Regions from separate parts of the Homo sapiens genome. Here all the other regions are linked to region 3. The links are contacts of gene promoters, found by promoter capture Hi-C in blood cells and fetal thymus (Javierre and others, 2016). All regions are on one chromosome and are shown on one strand. Each heading gives the region's core, a stretch centred on a gene start or on the middle of the fragment in contact. The rest is flanking DNA. Distances are from core to core; before and after follow the strand shown. Region 1 has its middle 6.6 kb from the start of SMIM10. Region 2 has its middle 8.4 kb from the start of RTL8C. Region 3 holds the start of HPRT1 (hypoxanthine phosphoribosyltransferase 1).

Region 1 (4,635 bases), core at 1,334-3,833, 520 kb after region 3:
TAGTTATGTAACTTCTTTCTTCAACTACCGATTCCATTTTCCCTTGCCTTCTTCCAGTTTCTTAGCTATCTTATTCTCTTTGCCTGGTGGGCTGAGATAAAGCTTCATTACTGAGAGGCTTGAGCCCTTGTGGTCTCAAGGGCTCTAATCTTTTATTAACATTTACCATTGAACATGACAGTATTAGGAGGAGTTCCAGAGTCTCATAGTTTTACCTGCCTGCCCTATGTAAGACCAACCAATTAACCCCTTGATGACCAGGATCAATCACACCGATCAAACCTATATTTTGCCTGTTGGTCCAGTGACAAAAATAGCTCAAAATAAGTAGGTTGAAGTCTTAACATCCAATCCAATGGAATGATTGTTTTTTCTACTGGTAGATGTTATCCTTCCTTAATCAGATCTCTAAATCAGCAGAGGACAAAATCAAGGGGACAGGAAGAAAATATTTGAAAACGGATGTTAAATAGGCAATATACCATTCTAGATGATGAAGAATAAGGTACAACTAGTGTGAATTCTGTTTAGGCCTTTCTTACCTCCTATTGCTATAAAATGAGTTCTTTATTCATAAGCAGTATGGTATGAAATATCATAATTGTGAATACGCCCATGAAAGTGTTGCTGGTTGAAGTGTTGCAGTCAAGGAAAGCAAATTGATACTGCAGTCCCCTGCACAATGGAAGGGAACCAAAACAAATCAAACCTGACTTCTCCCCCAAAAAGGATGCCCAAAGTCCCATAAGTTATTATCTTTTGTTTTAGAGCAAAGTGAAAGCAAATTTATTAAGAAAGTAAAAGAATAAAGAATGGCTACTCCTTAGGCAGAGCAGCCCCATAAGTTATTATCTTATGAACAGCCTGCCACAAGATGGCTGGTTGTAGTCCCCTCGCCCTCCCACACAAGGAAGTGGTATATACTGGAGGTTCAGTATTGGCCTCTGCTGCTGGGAAGTTGGGATTGGACACACAACTTTTATGATCAGCCGTGGTGAGGGGAAGCCCATGCAATTGAGCCCATGTAGAGCCTTCATCTCTGCAGCCATGGGCATTTTGTACATTGGCCCCTTGAGTAAGCTTCAAGATAGTTGGGGAAAGAGGTTGACATTCTAATGCAAGTAATCTTGTTCACATAGTTATCGATACCCTCCATCACAGTTGATGCCCTCTGTTGGGCACTTATATGGAACACAAATGTATTTACCATTAGTAGAGGTCCAACCACATACCACTTCCCCAAAACCTTCTTGTTACCAATACTATAAATTTTGTTCATTCCAAGTCCCTGAACCATATGGTATAGAGCCATACCTTAGGCCACTTCTCCTTCCAAGCAAAGTGAACAACCAGATATACCACTTGAAATTATGTTCTCAGAAAAGACTCTTCTTCAGTGACCTTCCGGGCTACCCCTGTGTGGGGCTGTGATCTACAACAATGTGCTCTGGCTGGTGCCCTTAGGTCATGCAGAAATGTGCTAAAATAGGTTTAGATGTTCTACTCTTCAAATAGCTGGTTATACAGAGGTCCCTGTATTAGTTTGCTAGGGCTGCCATAACAAAGTACCACAGACAGGTGACTTAAACAACAGAAATGTATTTCCTTACAGTTCTGGAGGCTAGAAGTTCAAGATCAAGCTGTCAGCTGAATTGGTTTCTTTTTGCTACAATTTGAATGTTTGTGTTCCCTCCAGAATTAATGTTGAAACTTAATCCCCAATGCAAGAGTATTAAGAGGTAAGGCCTTTAGGAGGTGATTAGGCCACGAGAGCTCTGCTGTCATGGATGGGATCAGTGCCTTGTGAAAGGGCTGAGGGAACTAGCTAGGCCCTTTTGCCCTTCTGTCCCTTTTGCCATGTGAGGAAACAGTGTTCGAGGTGCCGTCTTGGAAGCAGACACCAGGCCCTTACTAGACAACGAACTTGCTGTCAACTTGATCTTGGACTTCCCAGGCTCCAGAACTGTGAGAAATAAATTTCTATTATTTTTAAATTACTCAGTCTAAGGTATTTTGTCATAGTGGCAGGAATGGACTGAGTCACTTCTGAAGGCCTCTATTCTTGGGCTTATTGGTGGCCGTCTTCTCCATGTGTCTTGACATGGTATTCCCTATGTGTGTGTTTGTGTCCTAATCCCTTCTTCTTAGAAGAACATCAGTGATGTTGGATTAGGGTCCACCCTAATGACCTCATTTAACCTTAGTTACTTCTTTAAAAACCCTATCTCCAAATATAGTCGCATTCTGTGATTCTGGGGGTTAGGGCTTCAACATATGAATCTGGCACGGACACAACTCAGCCCAAAGCAGTCCCCATGAAACTGTAAGTGTGGGTTGCGAAAGAGAAGGCAGTGTGGCAGGTGTGAACACACTGGAAGTGTGAGCCACTGCTTAGGTACCTTTGTTGTGCCTCCAGAACCTGTTCAAGGCCAATCCATATATACCACTTCTAATTTAAGCTTCCTCTGTATTCTTCTCTAGTGAAACAGGTTCATCAAAAAGGAATGTAATAGGGATCACTACTCCTTAATTTTCTGAGTCTTGATGATGGCCCTAATTTCTGTCAGTTTCCTTTGCATGTACTATTGATTTTGGTTTACTATTTTGACAGTGTAGCACAGTGGTTGAGAGCATGAACTCTGAAGCTAGTTTCTGGTTTACATTCCAGTTCTACCAATTACTAAGTAGTGACCTCGGGCAAGTTACTTAAGCTTTTAATGCCTTAATTTCCTTTTCTGTAAAATGTGTACAATTATAGTACCTACCTTGTAGTGCTGTTTTGAGGAATAATATGTTAACATATGGAAAGTGCTTGAAAGAGTGTCTGGCATGTAATAAGTGCTATGCATGTGTTTGCTATCACTGCTATAATTGGAAGGGAGAGTAAGTTCCAGGCTTCCACCTGGCCCTTCCTATCATAAAGATTCTCACTCTGCAGGTCAGGAAGCCAATTGAGCTGTTTTGCCAGTTGCTAGTTTTATTGATTACAACTGTAAATCCAGCAACTGGGGAAATCACCAGAGTGGATTTATAGACCCACTGAGCCCACCATGAGTTGAATTTAGGCCAAAACTCCAATTATCATTTGATCTTCACAAGCCCTCACTCTGACTGTGGGCAACAGTGTTGTTCCGAGTTCCCAGGATTAGTGGCAGCTCAGAGCTATTGTCCCATAATCCCCGAAGAGTGCGTGTATTTGAACATTTACCTTGGTAAATTGCTGCAGACCTCTTCTGGGGATAGCTGGGAATATTTATAGTACATAATTGCAATGTTGCCATAGCATCCTTCCTCAAGGTACTCAGTCTCCCTTTTATTCTAGGGAATCTGGGTATATGAACTGAGGAGCTGTGACACTCTATCATGGTGACCCAACTTTCTGTTTGCCAAAATTCCTTTGGTTAAGCAGATCAAGTCTGTATATCAGTCCTAGGGTTCCTATGATTAATTAATTGCATGACAGATCACTGTGGGTCAAGCCATTTTGATTGTCATTCAGTAGCTCTATTCTGGGACATGGTTATCAGTTAGTTTTTGCTGTGAAACAAACCACCGAAAGCTTACACAACCACCATTTATTTAGTTAACGATTGTTGGGGGTTGACAATTTGGGCTGGGCTCAGCTGGGCTAGTCTTCTGCTTGCATCAGCTGAACTCACTCATATGTCTGTGGTCTGCTGCTGTTGGTTTCAGTGACACTACTTCTAGGGATTGGTTGGCCATGAGTTGGGCCAAAAGGGATGGTTGGAGCATGTATCTCTCGACATCTGGTTTGTTTGCATGATAGCAGCAGGTTTCCAAGACTAGCAAGCCCCAATGCAAAAGCACTTTTCCAGCTTTTGCGTGCACCATTTTAGCCAATGTCCCATTGACCAAAGCAAGTCACACAGCAGATTCAAGAGAAAAGAAATAGATCCAAATAGTTCTTCAAATAATCATCTGATTTTATGTGATCCTCCCACTTCCACTCTCTGTACCTGGAGAGCAGAGGGTGCTTCTTCCATGAAAATGGCTTCCACCTATGCTGCAGCCTTTTCCTGAGAATCATTGGTGCAGTATACTCTGATTTATTTTTCAGTTTGATCCACTCAGCATTCATTTCAGGAAGCTATCAAAGTCTTTGCTCTGCCATCCTCACCCTCTCCACTGCTTTTATGAATGAATTTATACTTCTTTATAATTGTTTCTATTTGTTTTGGGAAGGTAAATACCTGTGTTCAATTGAGTATCTTGCACCACAACAACCTCAGATTACATTTTAATCTACTATCTATAGATCAATGGTAGCAGTGCAAAAAATTATACGTATATGTACTATATTCTTCCTATATGTACATGTATATGTATGTATATATGTACACACATACATAAGCATATGTAAATAACATATATATGTGTGTGTATATATACATATATATATATATATAGAGAGAGAGAGAGAGAGAGAGAGAGAAGCTTGCTCTGTCACCGAGCCTGGAGTGCAGTGGTGAGATCATAGCTCACTGCAGCCTTGATCTCCTAAGCTCAAACAATCCTACCGCCTCAGTCTCTTGAGTAGCTGGGACTACTACAAGCATGTGCCACCACGAGTGGCTGATTTATTTATTTATTTTCTTTCTTTCTTTCTTTCTTTCT
Region 2 (4,476 bases), core at 1,901-4,400, 580 kb after region 3:
AATAGTTAATATAACAACTAGACAAAATACCAGCACGGACATAGAAAATCTAAAGAATAATACACATGTCTAGAACACTGTATCAAACAGCTAATACACAGTGTTTTCGAGTGCATGTGGTACATTCACCAAGATAAGCCATTTACTAAGGCATTAAACAAGTCTCGATAAATTTTAAAAGCTTGATGTTCTTTGGTCATAGTAGGAGAAAAAGCATTTGACAACATTGAACATCAGTTCATAAAAAATCCCAGCAAATTGGGATTGGAAGGGAATTCTTGTCTGATAAGGAGCTTCTACAAAAACCTATAGCTAACGTCATACTTAATGGTAAAATGTTGAGTGTACTTCAGGTATTTTTAAGTGGGTATATTTAAGCCCTTAGTTCATATAATTGCAAGCAAGGCTGAGGGAGAAGGATCTAGCTGTCATATTATTTTCCATGGTGTTAAGATTAATACCCACTAAAACAGATACTGTTAATATTCTATCTTTATCCCCTTGGTACTCTTGGCCATTTTAATCCACCTTAGCTCTGCTTTTGCTTTTTCCCCCAATAGCCAGAATCTGTGGCTTTTTGTCACAGGACTACAGAACCAACCTCCTTTTGTCTCCAAGCATGAAGAGCCAGTATCTGAGAATTAAAGTCCTCCAGAGAGTAGACTTTAGCTAATAATTGGTAGATATATAGTTATAAGTATTCCAGCTCTGTTGTTCTGTTTGAGACAACTGTGATTTGTGACCTGTATTGTCTCCAGTGTCCCCCTATTGGATTGTGCCAAAGTGATCCTAAATGGTACCTTGGTTGATATCAAAATATTGTTCGGCCTTCTTCCTCTCCCTGTTGCATGGTCCCACTCCCTGGTCACTATATTTTTACTTGGACCACTTCCTAATATATCACTTTCCGATGAGTCCTCAATCAGAGTCAGCTTATGGGGAACCCAATCTAAAGGCACAGCCAAGTTGTTTTCCAAAATATTTCTTTTACTTTACACTCTTGCCCTCAATGTTTGTGGTCCCATTTCCTCACTAGTATTTGGTACCATCGGTCTAACTTTTTGTCAAGTGTGTTGCTTTAATTACTTTGTATTGACTAAATTTATATGTTAACTATGCATATTAACTTTTTGGAGTGATCACTAAAATAATGTAAATAGAATGTATAACTTCTTAATGAGTAGAAAAAAGTAATGAATTAATACAAGGAACTTAGAACGTTTTAATTACAAATAATTGCCTCCCAGGGTAAATGTTCTTCTTCTCATTACTTTAGCTCTGTTTTTTCATCTTCAAATTAGACATTTATGCTATTGTTTGTTTAGATTTAGCCATGTATTTGCCATTTTCTTTGCCAGCATTCCAGACATTTATACTAGTACATTTTCCTTCTTCTAAAGTATATCCTATAGATATACTCCTTTAATAATGGTCTATTAGGGAAACTGTGATGTCTTTCATTTTCTGAAAAGTTATTTTATCCTCATTCTTTTAAAATTATTCTTGTTGAGTCTCTTTGACTTGTGGAACCATTCATATCTCTTTTTTTCTATATAATATTGTATTATGTACCACCAAAACCTTAGTGATGCAATAGTTCTTAAATGACAATTTCACTTTTTTGTCCTAAATTTTTCCCGTTAATCCATCGTCATCAGTTTGGCAAGTTTTGATACAGGTGCTTTTAATGTTTGCATGTAAGCAGGCAGTAACTATTATGTCACAGCAGCCCCTGGGCCAACAACAATTCATAATTTTGATTGATTGTAATAAACACCTTGATATAAGAGATATTAAAAAGTGACAAATTTGAATAGAATTGATGGAAACAGCATTATTCTGTAGTCTTTTAGCTTCCATTTTTGCTATTAAAAAATTATTTGTCAGCCTAATTTTGTGTTTCCTCTTTAGTTGTTTGAAAGATCTCTTTGTGTTTGGTGTTCTGTAACTTTTCTACTGCTTATCTAAATATACAATCCTTTTTCTTTTTCTGATATTAAAAAAACTGAGATATGTTACATCCAGCAAAGGATAAAAATCTTAAGTGTATAACTAGATGAACATTTACATATGTATACATCAGTATAACACCACTCAGATCAATGTATAGAACATTTCCAGCATTCAAAAGGACTCTCATGCCCCCTCTCAGGCAGGAGCCTCTTATGTATAAACATTCTTCTGACCTTTATTACCAAAGATAAACTTTACCTGTTTTTGAACTGCTTGTAAATGAAATTATACAGAATTTATGCTGTATGTCTGTGAGATTCATCTATGTTGTGTGTTTCAAGTGTTCACTCTTATTTATTGAGGTATAAGTTGATAAGTCTGTGGTGATATCTCATTGTGCTAAATTTGCATTTCTAGGCTGAGTGAAGTGGCTGACACCTGCAATCTCAGCACTTTGGGAGGCTGAGGTGGGAGGATTACTTGAGCACAGGAGTTCCAGACCAGCCTGGACAATATAGTGAGACCATATCTCTAAAAAAAAAAAAAAAAAAAAAAAATTAGCTAGGTGTGGTGGTATGCACCTGTAGTCCCAGCTACTCAAGAGGCTGACAGAATCACCTGAGCCTGGGAAGTCCAGGTTGCAGTGAGTTGTGATTGTGCCACTGCACTCCAGCCTGGGTGACAGAGTGAGACCCTGTTTCTAAAAAAAAAATTACATTTCTATTATTACTAATGATAATGCGTGTCTCTTCATATGCTTTTTACCCACTTTGCTACCCTTTTTAATGAAATGCCGATTACTATGGTTGGAATATTTGTCCCCACTAAAACTCATGGTGCAACTTGATATGGTTTGGCTGTGTCCCCCCAACCCAAATCTCATCTTGAATTGTAATCCCCATAATCCCCACATGTTGTGGGAAGGACCCAGCAGGAGGTAACTGAGTTATGGGGGCGGTTTTCCCCATGCTATTCTTATGATAATGAGTGAGTCTCACAAGAGCTGATGGTTTTATAAGCATCTGGCATTTTCTCTGCTGGCTCTCATTCTCTTTTTTTTTTTTTTTTTATTTACCTGCAGATTAAAGTGTTCTTTATTTTTCTGCCTCTCTTTCTTAATTTTTTTTTAAATAATATGGATTGTAGTAAAGAGAAAGAAAAGAAAGAAAAAAGAAGGAAGGAAGGAAAGAAGAAAGAAAAGGAGGAAATGAGAGAAGGGAGGGAGGGAGGAAGGGAGAAAGGCAGGAAAGGAGAAAAAAGAAAGCAAGAACTCAAGAAAGAAAGTGAGAAAAGAAGGAAGGAGGAAGAGAGAATCTGGCTCTCATTCTCTATCCTGCCACCCTGTGAAGAGGTGCCTTCCACTGTGATCCTAAGTTTTCTGAGGCCTCCCCAGAACTGTGAGTCAATTTAACTGTGAGTCAATTAAACCTGTTTTCTTTATAAATTACCCAGTCTTGGGTATTTCTTCACAGCAGCATGAGAACAGACTAACACAACTTAATCCCCAGTGTGGCAATATTGAGAGGTAGGGCCTTTAAGAGGTGATTGGATCATCTCTTAAAGTAAATGGATTAATTCATTCATAGATTAATGGATTAATGGGTTGTTCTGGGAAAGGAACTGGTGGCTTTATAAGAAGAGAAAGGGAAAGGGAAATCTGAGCTTGCAAGTTAGCACACTCAGCTCCTTCACCATGTGATACCCTGCACCATATTGGGACTCTGCAAACAGTCCTCACCAGCAGGAAGGGTCTCATCAGTTGTGACCCCTTGACTTGGACTTCTCTGCCTCCATAACTGTAAGAATACATTATTAAAAAAAAAATTACACTGTTTCAGGTATTCTGTTATAAGCAACAGAAAATTAACTAATACACTCATTCAAAAATCTCACCTATTTTTTATTGGTTTCTCATTTTATTGACTGGTGGCAACTATTTATATGTTCTTTTTTTAAAAAAAATTTTAGTTTCAGGGGTACCTGTGCAGGTTTGTTATATAAATTGCATGTCGCAGGGCTTTGGCATACAGATTATTTTGTTGCCTAGGTAATAAGCCTAGTACCCAATAAGTAGTTTTTCAATCTTCACCCCCATCCCACCCTCCAACTTCAAGTAGGCCCTGGTGTCTATTGTTTCTTTCTTTGTGTTCATGTGCACTCAATGTTTAGCTCCCACTTGTAAGTGAGAACGTGGTATTTGGTTTTCTGTTCCTGCTTTAGTTCACTTAAGATAATGGCCTCCAGCTCATTCCTTATTGTTGCAAAGGACGTGATCTCATTCTTTTTTATGGCTGCCCAGTATTCCATGGTGTATATGTACCACATTTTCTTTATTGAGTCTACCATTGATGAGCATTTAGGTTGATTCCATGTCCTTGCTATTGCTAGTGCTGCAATGAACATATGCATGCATATGTCTTTATGGTAGAACAATTCATATTCCTTTGGGCATGTACCCAATAAAGGGATTGTTGGGTTGAATGGTAGTTCTATTTTAAGTTCTTTGAGAAATTGCCAAACTGC
Region 3 (4,433 bases), core at 296-2,795:
ATAAATGATTTTTAGAATTCTCGTAAAACTCTTCATGGCAGTAGTTATTATTCTCTCTCTCTCTCTTTTTCTTTTTTCTTGAGACAGGATATTTCTCTGTTGCCCAGGCTGGAGTGCAGTGGCACAGTCTTGGCTCACTGCAGCCTGGACCTCCTGGGCTCAAGCCATCCTCCCACCTCAGCCTCCCAAGTAGCTGGGGCTACAGGCACATGGCCACCAGGCCCAGATAATTTTTCATTTTTGTAGAGACTGAGTCTCACCATGTTACCCAGGTTTATTATTCTCATTTTTTAGATGAAGAGACTGAGGTCCAGAGAAGCTCAATGACTTGCCTAGTTTTACAAATCTCCTGCCATCACATACCCCTCAGCGTCCTTAATAAGAGGGAGGCCACCAACTATGTGCTGGGCACTGTGGTGGATGCTGGAGCTATAGGGTTGAGTATATAAGAAATGGTGTTGCTGGAGCAACTGTTGCTTGCTTACCTGACCTATCTGAGAATTAATTAGCAGGGGAACATATTTTTGTTTTCAGATTCAATATAAGAACTTGTGTGGGCAAAAATAAAGATCAGTAGTAATAACAGTAGTTCCCATTTGCTGACTGTACTGTCCTAAGTGCATATATATATACATACACACACGCATACCTATACTCCTCTAATACTCAAAATGATCCTGTTTATGTATTGTTAATATGCTCATTTTATTTTTAAATTTTTATTTATTTTTATTTTTATTTATTTTTGAGACGGAGTCTCATTCTGTCGCGGAGGCTGAAGTGCAGTGGTGCGATCTCAGCTCAGTGCGACCTCCGCCTCCCGGGTTCAAGTGATTCTCCTGCCTCAGCCTCCGGACTAGCTGGGATTACAGGCGCCCGCCTCCACGCCCAGCTAATTTTTGTATTTTTAGTAGAGATGGGGTTTCGCCATGTTGGCCAGGCTGGTCTCGTACTCCTGACCTTGAGTGATCCACCTGCCTCGGCCTCCCAAAGTGCTGGGATTACAGGCATGAGCCACCGCGCCGGGCTAATATGCTCATTTTAGTGAGGCAAAAATAGAGGCTCAGAGTCTGATTTGTACAAAACTACAGAGCAGTTAAGTGTCCTCTCAGATGTGTACCCTGATCTGGGTGACTCTAGGACTCTAGGTCTCAACTGTTACAACCAGTTAAGGGTTTGGGGAAGCACTGGGCCAAGAGTCAGGAAAATGGAAGCCACAGGTAGTGCAAGGTCTTGGGAATGGGACGTCTGGTCCAAGGATTCACGCGATGACTGGAACCCGAAGAGCCGGGGCCCGGTTTACGGCCGCCATGAAGCAACGCGCGCCGGTAGGTTTGGGAATCAGGGAGCCCTCTGAATAGGAGACTGAGTTGGGAGGGAAAGGGGCTTCGCTGGGGGAGCCTCGGCTTCTTCTGGGAGAAAATTCCCACGGCTACCTAGTGAGCCTGCAAACTGGTAGGCGCCGGCGTAGGCGCGCGGGCGGGGCCGGGGGCGGGGCCTGCGGGGCGTGGCGGGGCGGGCAGAGGGCGGGGCCTGCTTCTCCTCAGCTTCAGGCGGCTGCGACGAGCCCTCAGGCGAACCTCTCGGCTTTCCCGCGCGGCGCCGCCTCTTGCTGCGCCTCCGCCTCCTCCTCTGCTCCGCCACCGGCTTCCTCCTCCTGAGCAGTCAGCCCGCGCGCCGGCCGGCTCCGTTATGGCGACCCGCAGCCCTGGCGTCGTGGTGAGCAGCTCGGCCTGCCGGCCCTGGCCGGTTCAGGCCCACGCGGCAGGTGGCGGCCGGGCCCTGAGGCGCGGGATCCGCAGTGCGGGCTCGGGCGGCCGGGCCCAGGGAACCCCGCAGGCGGGGGCGGCCAGTTTCCCGGGTTCGGCTTTACGTCACGCGAGGGCGGCAGGGAGGACGGAATGGCGGGGTTTGGGGTGGGTCCCTCCTCGGGGGAGCCCTGGGAAAAGAGGACTGCGTGTGGGAAGAGAAGGTGGAAATGGCGTTTTGGTTGACATGTGCCGCCTGCGAGCGTGCTGCGGGGAGGGGCCGAGGGCAGATTCGGGAATGATGGCGCGGGGTGGGGGCGTGGGGGCTTTCTCGGGAGAGGCCCTTCCCTGGAAGTTTGGGGTGCGATGGTGAGGTTCTCGGGGCACCTCTGGAGGGGCCTCGGCACGGAAAGCGACCACCTGGGAGGGCGTGTGGGGACCAGGTTTTGCCTTTAGTTTTGCACACACTGTAGTTCATCTTTATGGAGATGCTCATGGCCTCATTGAAGCCCCACTACAGCTCTGGTAGCGGTAACCATGCGTATTTGACACACGAAGGAACTAGGGAAAAGGCATTAGGTCATTTCAAGCCGAAATTCACATGTGCTAGAATCCAGATTCCATGCTGACCGATGCCCCAGGATATAGAAAATGAGAATCTGGTCCTTACCTTCAAGAACATTCTTAACCGTAATCAGCCTCTGGTATCTTAGCTCCACCCTCACTGGTTTTTTCTTGTTTGTTGAACCGGCCAAGCTGCTGGCCTCCCTCCTCAACCGTTCTGATCATGCTTGCTAAAATAGTCAAAACCCCGGCCAGTTAAATATGCTTTAGCCTGCTTTATTATGATTATTTTTGTTGTTTTGGCAATGACCTGGTTACCTGTTGTTTCTCCCACTAAAACTTTTTAAGGGCAGGAATCACCGCCGTAACTCTAGCACTTAGCACAGTACTTGGCTTGTAAGAGGTCCTCGATGATGGTTTGTTGAATGAATACATTAAATAATTAACCACTTGAACCCTAAGAAAGAAGCGATTCTATTTCATATTAGGCATTGTAATGACTTAAGGTAAAGAGCAGTGCTATTAACGGAGTCTAACTGGGAATCCAGCTTGTTTGGGCTATTTACTAGTTGTGTGGCTGTGGGCAACTTACTTCACCTCTCTGGGCTTAAGTCATTTTATGTATATCTGAGGTGCTGGCTACCTCTTGGAGTTATTGAGAGGATTATAAGACAGTCTATGTGAATCAGCAACCCTTGCATGGCCCCTGGCGGGGAACAGTAATAATAGCCATCATCATGTTTACTTACATAGTCCTAATTAGTCTTCAAAACAGCCCTGTAGCAATGGTATGATTATTACCATTTTACAGATGAGGAACCTTTGAAGCCTCAGAGAGGCTAACAGACATACCCTAGGTCATACAGTTATTAAGAGAAGGAGCTCTGTCTCGAACCTAGCTCTCTCTCTCTCGAGTAATACCAGTTAAAAAATAGGCTACAAATAGGTACTCAAAAAAATGGTAGTGGCTGTTGTTTTTATTCAGTTGCTGAGGAAAAAATGTTGATTTTTCATCTCTAAACATCAACTTACTTAATTCTGCCAATTTCTTTTTTTTGAGACAGGGTCTCACTCTGTCACCTAGGATGGAGTGCAGTGGCACAATCACTGCTCACTGCAGCCTCGACTTCCCGGGCTCGGGTGATTCTCCCCAGGCTCAGGGGATTCTCCCACTTCAGCCTCCCAAGTAGCTGGGACTACAGGTGCGCACCACCATCCCTGGCTAATATTTGTACTTTATTTTATTTATTTATTTATTTATTTTTTGAGATGGAGTTTCGCTCTTGTTGCCCGGGCTGGAGTACAGTGGCATGATCTCGGCTCAGTGCAACCTCTGCCTCCCGGGTTCAAGCGATTCTCCTACCTCATCCCCCTGAGTAGCTGGGATTACAGGCGCCTGCCACCATGCCTGGCTAATTTTTTGTATTTTTAATAGAGACGAGGTTTCACCATGTTGGCCAGGCTACTCTCGAACTCCTGATCTCAGGTGATCCACCCGCCTTGGCCTCCCAAAGTGCTGGGATTACAGGCGTGAGCCACTGCGCCCGGCCTAATATTTGTATTTTTTGTAGAGATGGTGTTTTGCCATGTTGTCCAGGCTGGTCTTGAACTCCTGAGCTCAAGCGATCTGCCCGCCTCTGCTTCCCAAAGTGCTGGGATTACAGGCATGAGCCACCGTGCCTGGCCTAGGTAGACGCTTTTAGCTTTGGGGTGTGATGCCTGCCCCAGTATATAGTGAATTTAATTATTGCTAGAGCTGGCTGTTTGTTAGTTTTCTTTGAACATAAGATACTCATTGTTTTTAGTTTGCAAATCCCTCTTCCTTTTTAAAAAATTTCTTTCCCTTAAATTGTTTGCATGTTAGCAATAACAAATGCTTAAATGGTGCTATGTGCTAGATACTCTTCTAAGCCCTGTTATGTATATTAACTAATTTTTTAAATTACACAAATCAGAGAGGTTAAGTAACTTGCCCAAGATTACCCAACAATACTAGGATTTGAACCTAAGTTTGTCTCACCCCAGATTCTGCTCTTAATCTCTAAACTTTTAAGTTAGTAGTGACAATAGTAGGTATTTATTGAATACTTAACTATGTTTTAGGCGTTGAAGTAAATATTT

What was found. Contacts are between HindIII fragments. The CHiCAGO score rates a contact against its expected background, and 5 or more counts as called.
Region 1: a fragment that was not itself captured here is called in contact with the fragment with the promoter of HPRT1 in region 3 in 1 of 17 cell types (erythroblasts); the score reaches 5.4 in erythroblasts.
Region 2: a fragment that was not itself captured here is called in contact with the fragment with the promoter of HPRT1 in region 3 in 1 of 17 cell types (neutrophils); the score reaches 6.8 in neutrophils.

Annotation. Positions count from the first base shown.
Region 1 is chrX:134,982,030-134,986,664 of GRCh38, forward strand. No RefSeq gene overlaps it. Among named protein-coding and RNA genes, the nearest start is that of SMIM10, 6.6 kb to the right of the region's middle. RefSeq lists a cis regulatory region at 1-355. The HindIII fragment of the contact is 252 bases long and covers 2,458-2,709 here.
Region 2 is chrX:135,038,467-135,042,942 of GRCh38, forward strand. No RefSeq gene overlaps it. Among named protein-coding and RNA genes, the nearest start is that of RTL8C, 8.4 kb to the left of the region's middle. The HindIII fragment of the contact is 5,942 bases long and covers 180-4,476 here.
Region 3 is chrX:134,458,620-134,463,052 of GRCh38, forward strand. It overlaps HPRT1 (hypoxanthine phosphoribosyltransferase 1), which reads left to right and starts at 1,546. Exons shown (of 9, transcript NM_000194.3): 1 at 1,546-1,719. The coding sequence starts at 1,693. RefSeq lists silencers at 1,418-1,537, 1,638-1,817. The HindIII fragment of the contact is 6,801 bases long and covers 1-4,433 here.